Linked DNA regions of Homo sapiens: all the other regions are linked to region 1. The links are contacts of gene promoters, found by promoter capture Hi-C in human tissues and cell types (Jung and others, 2019). All regions are on one chromosome and are shown on one strand. The core of a region is centred on a gene start or on the middle of the fragment in contact, and the rest is flanking DNA. Distances in the headings are between cores, read along the strand shown.

Region 1 (2,896 bases), core at 113-2,612:
CCGCACAGATACAATATCTTCTCTATTTTTCCAACTTTCTCTTAGTGGTTAAGGGAGTCACACAGAAAAGCTTCTCCACTTCATGGAATATTCGCTATATTCCACTTTATAATGAGGCTCTCAGTGAATCGTTCTCCTCCGACTCTCTCACTTCCCTATCTCCCTTTTGTTGCCAGTCCCCCTAGGTTTGTTCTTCCCTCTTGTTTTCAGATAACTCGGATTACCCAGTTGGAACCAAAGGCCAAAGAATGTCCTCTCTATTATGTTTGATTGAAAAGCCGCCCGGAAGAGGGAAGGGGTGTGGATCTACACTTATTCACTCTTTCACTAATGTGCCAAACTATTTGATCCGTGCCGCTTTTGTGTACCCAAAACACAGTATCATAAAAGTAATTACAGGCCCGAAAATGATTCTCAGCCCAAATGAATGGCCTTTTGGAATGCTATATTCTGGACTTCTCTTTGCGTGGGGGAGGGTCTCACAACTAACGAAAACAAGTCCTACAGAAAACTGGTGAGCTCGGCGGCTGGGGGAGGGAGGGAGGGGGGTCACAGGTCCGAAGTGCAAGGGACGCCGAAACAGGACTTGCCTCAGTTATGAGCACGTGCTCTGACCTGGCTGCGGCGGCGCAGGCAAACCCCTCGGAAGGTGTCGTTGTCCACCGAGACGGCCATTGACCTCTGACTCATCCAGAGATAAGTCATCAACCAGGCCACAAGTCCCAAGCCAGCAGCTCCTGGATTTAGTGTGCACGGAAAATTTGAGTTTCAGCTGTACGACCACTAGCAGTTAAAGACGGGTCTGAATTTCCTCGGGCTCGGCCGGAAAGTGAGGATGGCGATGGAAATGCCACCCTCCCCGAGTCTGGCCTCTGAGAGTTAAAGAAGCCGGTCCCATCCCGGCGCGTGAAGGAGCTGCCGCTGTGTGGGGCAGGACCCGAGCGGCCCCAGAGCGCGCAGCTCTGGGTCCCCGCCGCCCCGTCCCCCGCGCCTCTCACCTGCGGCCGAGTGGCCCGAGAGCGCACGGCCCCGGGCGCGGCGCTGGCCACCAAGTTCGCGGCGCTCGCGTAGCTCTTCCTCCTCGTCCTCCCGCCGCCGGCCCTCAGCCATGGGCGAGGCGCGGGGCGCAGCCGCGGGATGGCCAGCGAGCTGCGGCCCCGGCGCCCCAGAACGCCTGCACCCGGCGCCCCACGCCACCGCCCTCGGGCCGGGGGGAAGGCGGCTCCCGGAGAGGAGGCGTCGGCGGCGGCTGTGGAAATGGCCACCTCCGCGAACTCCACCTGCAGCCGGCCGGGCAGCGGCAGGGCGCGGGCCGAGCCGATTCCCCGCCTCCTTGCGGCGTCCCGGCGGCCTCTTAATCCCTGGCCTTTCCCACTCCCACTCCCGCTCTCTTCCCCCTTCCTCTTTGCCTTCCCCGCCCCGTAGAGCTCCACCGCGGATCGGGCGGGTTCGGGGCTGGCCTCGCCTCCTCAGGGAGGGGTTATCGGCCCCTAAGGCCGCCCCACAGCCACACACGCTGGAAACACCAGCTCGACCCAAACAAACGTGTGCAAAATAAATAAACGGGATAGGAAGAGGGGAAAGAGGAGGTGGCCTGGCCTCTTCCTGCCTTTTCACGATATTCCAGTGTCAACAGGAAACCCATTTGTTTGACACTTAAACAAAAAGAGGAGGAACCCGACCGGGGCCGAACTGGGAGAGATGGGACAGCTGGGAGCTGCTGAACTTTGGAACAAACTTGGCTTGGAGTTGGGTCGAGCCTCTGCAATGCACACTTTTTTCTTTCCCTCTCTTTTCGCCCTTAAAAACCTAGACTTGCGGGAGCACAGAGGATTTTTAGGGCAGTGAAACTACTATGCGTATGATTCTGTAATAGCGGATGCCTTTGTCCAAGCCCAAAGAATGTACAAAACCAAGAGTGAACCGCAATGTAAACTATAGACTTTGGGTGATTATGAGGTGTCAATGTGGGTTCATCAATTGTAGCAACTGTGGCACTCTGGTGGGGGATGTTGATAATGGGGGAGGCTATGCATGTGTGGGAGCAGGGGGTACATGGGAAATCTCTGTACCTTTAGCTCAATTTTGCTGTGAACCTAAAACTGTTCTTAAAAATAGTCTAGTAAGACTGGAAGCGGTGGCTCATGCCTGTAATCCCAGCCCTTTGGGAGGTCGAGGCGGGCAGATCACGAGGTCAGGATATCGAGACCATCCTGGCTAACACGGTGAAACCCCGTCTTTACTAAAAATACAAAAAAAAAAAAAAATAGCCAGGCGTGGTGGCGGGCGCCTGTAGTCCCAGCTACTCGGGAGGCTGAGGCAAGAGACTGGCCTGAACCCAGGAGGCAGAGCTTGCAGTGAACGGAGATCGCACCACTGCACTCCAGCCTGGGCAACAGAGCGAGAGTCCTTCTCGAAAAAAAAAAAAAGTCTAATAAAAATGTTTAATAATAAATCAAGCCTCACTGTATTCCAGTTCATTTAGGGCTAGGATATGGCTACAATTCCTAGAAGAACAGGAAGAAATGTGTTAAAGAGACCCATACGTGATTATTTGTAGAGAGGCAACTAGGGGAAGTGGAGAGACCACTGGCTCTGGAGTCAGAAACTGTAATTTGAAGCACTTAGCTGTGTGAGCTACCCCTAAGAAAGTTTTTCAAAGCTGGAAAGAACCGTGTAACCAAAGTTGTGTGTACCTGCACAATACACATCTTAGGTTCAGTAGGTGCACGTACTTACTTTCACACAGAGAGGAAAAGATTCTGGAATTTCACCAAAAGATACCCAAGTAGCAGGCAGAAATATTACCTGGACATGAAACCTTAGGAAATTCCTGAGTGCGATGAACAGGCCTTTATCTTTGGCGTCTTGCTCTATTTCTGAGAGATTACCAAGA
Region 2 (2,896 bases), core at 202-2,701, 46 kb after region 1:
AGTGCCCTGCCCCAGGCCCATTGCCTTTCTTCTTTTCCAACCTCTTTCAGTTTCATGGTTTTGCTGTGTGTCCTTCCAGTCCACATTTTTGATAATTTTAATACATATATATTATTCATAAAAAGTACATTGCTTTTTGTGTTTCTAAAATTTACATTAATGGATATATGCTGTCTGTATCTCTTTTTTTGTAGCTTGCTTTTTAAACTAAAAGCTATATTTTGTGTGTGTGTGTGTGTGTGTGTGTGTGTGTGTGTGTGTGTGTGTATAAGACAGGATCTTGCTCTATCACCCAGGCTGGAGTGCAGTGGCACGATCATGGCCCTCTGCAGCCTTGATCTCTTGATTTCCCGGGCTCAAGCAATCCTCCCACCTCAGCCTTCCTAGTAGCTGGGAGTACAGGCACGCACTACCATGCCCAACTGATTTTTAAAATGTTTAGTAGAGATGACGTCTCGCTATGTTGCCCAGACTAGTTTAGAACTCCTGAGCTCAAGCAATCCTCCTGCCTCAGCCTCCCAAAGTGTTGGGATTACATGCGTGAGCCACTGCACCTGGCCTAAAACTATACTTTTAAAGATTGATTCATGTTACTAGTTCATTCCTGTAAGCCAGTGGCTCTCGACAGTTTTTTTTTTTTGAAATGGAGTCTTGCTCTGTCACCCAGGCTGGAGTGCAATGGCACTATCTTGGCTCACTGCAACCTCCACCTCCTAGGTTCAATTGATTCTCCTGCCTCAGCCTCCTGAGTAGCTGGGATTATAGCACCCGCCACCATGCCCAGCTAATTTTGTATTTTTAGTAGAGAGAAACAGGTTTCACCATGTTAGCCAAGCTGGTCTCGAACTCCTGACCTCAGGTGATCCACCTGCCTCAACCTCCCAAAGTGCTGGATTACAGGCATGAGCCACAGAACCTGGCCAACAGTTTTGCCTCCCCAGTGGACCTTTGGCAATATCTGGAGATATTTTTGATTGTCACGGTGGGTGGTGGGCAGGGAGGTGCTATTGGCATCTAGTGGGTAGAGAGGCCAGTGATACTGCTTAACATCCTACAATGCAGAGGATAGCTCCCTGCAACAAAGAACGGTGTGGTCCAAAATGTCAGTAACACCGAAGTTGAGAAACCCTGATCTAAACAAGTGATTCTCAAAATGTGGTCCTGACTGGCAGCATCAGCATCCCCTTAGAACTTGTTAGAATACAAATTCTTTGGCTCTGTCCCTGACCCAATGAATCAGAATTTATGGGGGAGAACACAGAAATCTAAGGTTCTACAAACCCTCCAGGTGATTCTGGTGCACACTAAAGTGAGAACCACTGAGCTAAAACTATTGAATTGTTTTCAATTGTATGGAAACACCCCACTGCATTTATCTTATTGATCATTTCACATTTATCATGTAAGATGATGTTCTCTATACTAAGAGGCTCCTTTGTCCTCCTACACTACACCATACAACATACCCCTTAAAACATTAAAATGGACATTTTAGTAATAAAAAACATCTGTTGGAATGCTTACTATTTCCTTGGCATTATTCTAGGTTTTTTATCTATTAATTACCCGTAACAACCCAAGGAAGTAGATGCCAGTACTATCCAATTTCACAGATGAGAAACTAAGTAGTAAAGTAATTTGTTCAAGGTTACACAACTAATAAGTGTCTGACCGAGCCAAGATTTGAACCCAGACTGTTTGGGACTAGAGCCTGTTTCTTTAACATTGCACACATTCCCAGAAACACAGACTGTACCATTTTGGCTTAATGTTCAGAGCCTAGTGTAATAGATTATGCATCCAAATGTCTAACAAAAAATGACGTGGAGCCTGGGCTCAGTGGCTCATGCCTGTAATCCCAGCACTTTGGGAGGCCGAGACAGGCAGATCACTTGAGGTCAGGAGTTCGAGATCAGCCTTGCCAACATGGTGAAACCCTGCCTCTACTAAAAATACAAAAATTAGCCAGGCGTGATAGTGTGTGCCTGTAATCCCAGCTACTCAGGAGGCTGAGGCAGGAGAATCACTTGAACCCAGGAGGCAGAGGTTGCAGTGAGCCGAGATTCTGCCACTGCACTCCAGCCTAGGCGACAGAGCAAGACTCCTTCTCAAAAAAAAAAAAAAAAAAAGTGGAAATGAGAGAAAGGGTGCAGACAGTGGAGTCTAATCTAAATTTGGCATGCTTCTACCAAGCACAGAATTCATTTTCTCTAAAACGCCTCAAAGCTCCTGCTCCAGCCATATACACAGGCACTTATATTTATATCACTAAGACATGAACCTTTACATGAAATTTGGAGAAATAATCTTGCTACTCAACACTATACATATTTTTAAAAAGATTAAATACAGGATTTAGAATCAGGTTTTCATTTAAGCACATCAAAAATAGATGCTAAAACTTTAATGGTATTAAAAAAACAAAAAATAAAAAAATGGTGGCCTTTAAACATTTACTGTGGTTTTAATTTTTCTTGAGTGTCACTTTATATTTTCATGTGGTATGAAAGGTTTAGTGACTTCCAACCAGAGATATTTTCTGATCACTTTCTAGAAATCTACAATGTTGTTAGGAAGATAAAGCATACACATGCAAAGCAGTTAAACAGTAATACAAGTCCAGGTAACCTTAAGAGGTCAAGGTTATAATATAGCAGATACAAAGCTTAACCTTAAGAGTTTAAGCTTAAAATGTAGCAGATACAAAGAGAGCAAAGGTTATAGAAACTCAGAGAAGAGTGAAAATATCTGAATTGGCTGGAAATTTTTTATGAAGGAGGTCAATTTGCATTAAGTGAGAAGAATGCATATTATTATGAAAGAAGGAAGGTACTTTATGTAAGTTTGATTTTTTTTTTTTTTTTTTGAGATGGAGTCTCACTCTGTCGCCCAGGCT
Region 3 (2,896 bases), core at 190-2,689, 34 kb before region 1:
TGGGCAAAACAGGGAGACCCCATCTCTAAATAAACAAAGAAAAAACCGGTACACAAGTGTTCACAGCAGCATGATTATTATTTTAGAAACAGGGTCTTGCTCTGTCACCCAGGTTGAAGTGCAGTGGTAGGATCATAGTTCATTGTAAACATGGCTCAAGCAATACTTCTGCCTCAGCTTCCCGAGTGGTTGGGATGACAGGCATATGCCACCATAGCAGCTATTTACTTATTTATTTGTTTTGAAGAGACAGGGTTCCACTAGGTTGCCCAGGTTGGTCTCAAATGCCTGGCCTGATCCTCCTGCCTTGGCCTCTCAAGGCACTAGGATTACAGACACGAACCATCATGCTGGGCCATAGAAGCATTATTTATAATATAATAGCCCAAATAATGGAAGCAATCACAATGTCCATTAGGTGATGAATGCAGAAACACCAAGTGGTACATCCATACAATGGAATATTATTCAGCCCTAAAAGGAGTGGAGTACTGATACAACATGAAGGAACCTTGAAAAGAATGTGCTAACTGAAACATGCCAGACACAAAAGGTCAGATATTACATGATTCCATTTATATGAAATGTCTAAAATAGGCAAATCCATAGAGGCAGAGAGTGGACTACTGGTTGGCCTAGCTGGGAGGGTTGGGAAGAAATGGGGATAATTACAAATGGGTATGAGGTTTCTTTTTAGGGTGATAAAAATGTTCTAAAATGGGTTGTGGTGATGGTTGTACAACACTGTAAATATACTAAAAACCACTGAATTGTGTAGTATGTGAATTATATGACAGTAAAGCTGTTACAAAAAAGAAAGAGAACAAGACTAGAAGACTACTACCAACAACTATCACTATCATTTTAGGTAAGAATGGATTACTTAACACTAAACAAGAGCAGTAAGAACAGGAAATTAAGGCAGTTCATTCATTTGAATAAATTTATCTTTAGTGAAAAAATCATCTCATTAGTTTTATTTCTCTTTTTATCACAGACAAATATTTTGAAATTACTAATATATTTCACTAAGGTCTCTGACAATTTCAATTCTATGATTCTAAAATTCCTGTGATATCTCCCTAAAGCAGTGATTAGTCCAGCCCCCTGCAGGGTTCCACAGCTCCATGGGTCTCATGGCCCAGTTTTAAAGAATTCTCCACCCCTTATTACTACTCTCTTCTTTATGCCTCTTTTCACTATGCTCATTACCTTTCATTTCTTCCTTAGGGTGATTCTGGAGGGCCTCTGTCGTGTCACATTGATGGTGTATGGATCCAGACAGGAGTAGTAAGCTGGGGATTAGAATGTGGTAAATCTCTTCCTGGAGTCTACACCAATGTAATCTACTACCAAAAATGGATTAATGCCACTATTTCAAGAGCCAACAATCTAGACTTCTCTGACTTCTTGTTCCCTATTGTCCTACTCTCTCTGGCTCTCCTGCGTCCCTCCTGTGCCTTTGGACCTAACACTATACACAGAGTAGGCACTGTAGCTGAAGCTGTTGCTTGCATACAGGGCTGGGAAGAGAATGCATGGAGATTTAGTCCCAGGGGCAGATAACTCACAGGAGAGCCACTGCTAACCCTGGGTGACTTTATTTACAATTTGAAATGATTTTGTTTTTAAGGTTTTTGATTTTGGAAGTTTTGGGGTTGGAATGTGAAGAGTTAAGAAATAAAACTGTCACTTCTGTACATTCTTTGTCCTTGACTAATGCATCTTCCAAGACAGGAAGGATGTCCTCTATGAATAAGCATTTGTAGACACAAATTAAATAGCTATAAGACTAATGTGTCTTCCAAGGCAGGAAGATGTCCTCTATGAATAAGTATTTGTAGACACAAATTAAATAGCTACTACAGAGGCAGGCAAGTATCTGTGATGACACAGGAAAATATAATAAGGGTCTACCTCGTGCCCATGGGTTGCATCATGGGATTTTAGTCTATTATTTCTCACCTTCTCTATTATCTTTAACTTCCCTTCTAACCCTCCCTTTACTCCTCAACTGTAACAAGAGGGCTAATAAAAAATTCATATAAAGCCAATTCCAAGCACACTGCCTACAGATTAGCTAGCCCTGTTCCATAAGGAGCAGTAAAAAAAGAAGAAAAAAAAAGAGATGCAAACATGGGTCAGGCATGTTGGCTCACACCTGTAATCCCAACACTTTGGGAGGCCAAGGATCACTTGTGGCCAGGGGATGAAGACCAGCCTGGGCAACACAGCCCCTGTCTCTACAAAAGAAATAAGAAATTAGCCAAGAATGGTGGCATGTGCCTGTGGTCTCAGCTACTTGGGAAGCTGTGGTGGAAGGATAGCTTGAGACCAGGAGTTCGAGGCTGCAGTGAGCTATGATCACATCACTGCACTCCAGACTGGGCAACAGAGCAAGACCCTGTCTTTAAAAAAAAAAAAGGAAAAGAAAAGAAGGAAGGAAATGCATATATGTAGTTCAGCCCTATATTTTTCTTAAGTTTTTACTTTTTAAAATACCAGTGTGACCTACTACGAACAATGGATTAATGCTATGATCTCAAGAGCTGAGGTCTTGGGTTTCAACAATCTGGACCTATCTAAGTGGTTTAACTTCACATCTATAAAAAAACACTTTAAATATTTGGAACAAAGGACATTATAGAAAAGAGCATTATATCCCATGCTTCCTTTGTTAAACAATCACACAACCTATCCTATTCCCTTCTATACCTAGGCTGCCAGAAACTCAGAGCTAACTTTTGAACTCAATTACAATCATTATCTTCACCACAGATTTTCTGGTATAATTCCATTCATACTTCTTTAAGTCATCCTTTATTTCTCATTTAAATGAACTTAAGTTTTATTGCATCTGTGTCTTTTACAAGATACGGATCCTTTTATAAAAAAA

The links. Contacts are between HindIII fragments. The study calls those that stand out against the background at their distance.
Region 2: a fragment that was not itself captured here is called in contact with the fragment with the promoter of SH3D19 in region 1 in 1 of the 25 tissues and cell types used here (psoas muscle).
Region 3: a contact is called between a fragment that was not itself captured here and the fragment with the promoter of SH3D19 in region 1, in 2 of the 25 tissues and cell types used here (neural progenitor cells and ovary).

The regions. Positions count from the first base shown.
Region 1 is chr4:151,324,243-151,327,138 of GRCh38, forward strand. SH3D19 (SH3 domain containing 19) reads right to left here and starts at 1,363. Exons shown (of 20, transcript NM_001378122.1): 1 at 999-1,363. The coding sequence starts at 1,110. The HindIII fragment of the contact is 31,894 bases long and covers 1-2,896 here.
Region 2 is chr4:151,369,755-151,372,650 of GRCh38, forward strand. No RefSeq gene overlaps it. Among named protein-coding and RNA genes, the nearest start is that of FHIP1A-DT, 38 kb to the right of the region's middle. The HindIII fragment of the contact is 3,439 bases long and covers 1-2,896 here.
Region 3 is chr4:151,289,888-151,292,783 of GRCh38, forward strand. All of the region lies in intron 1 of SH3D19 (SH3 domain containing 19), which reads right to left. It overlaps PRSS48 (serine protease 48), which reads left to right. Exons shown (of 5, transcript NM_183375.5): 5 at 1,231-1,975. The coding sequence ends at 1,566. Among named protein-coding and RNA genes, the nearest start is that of PRSS48, 14 kb to the left of the region's middle. The HindIII fragment of the contact is 9,272 bases long and covers 1-2,896 here.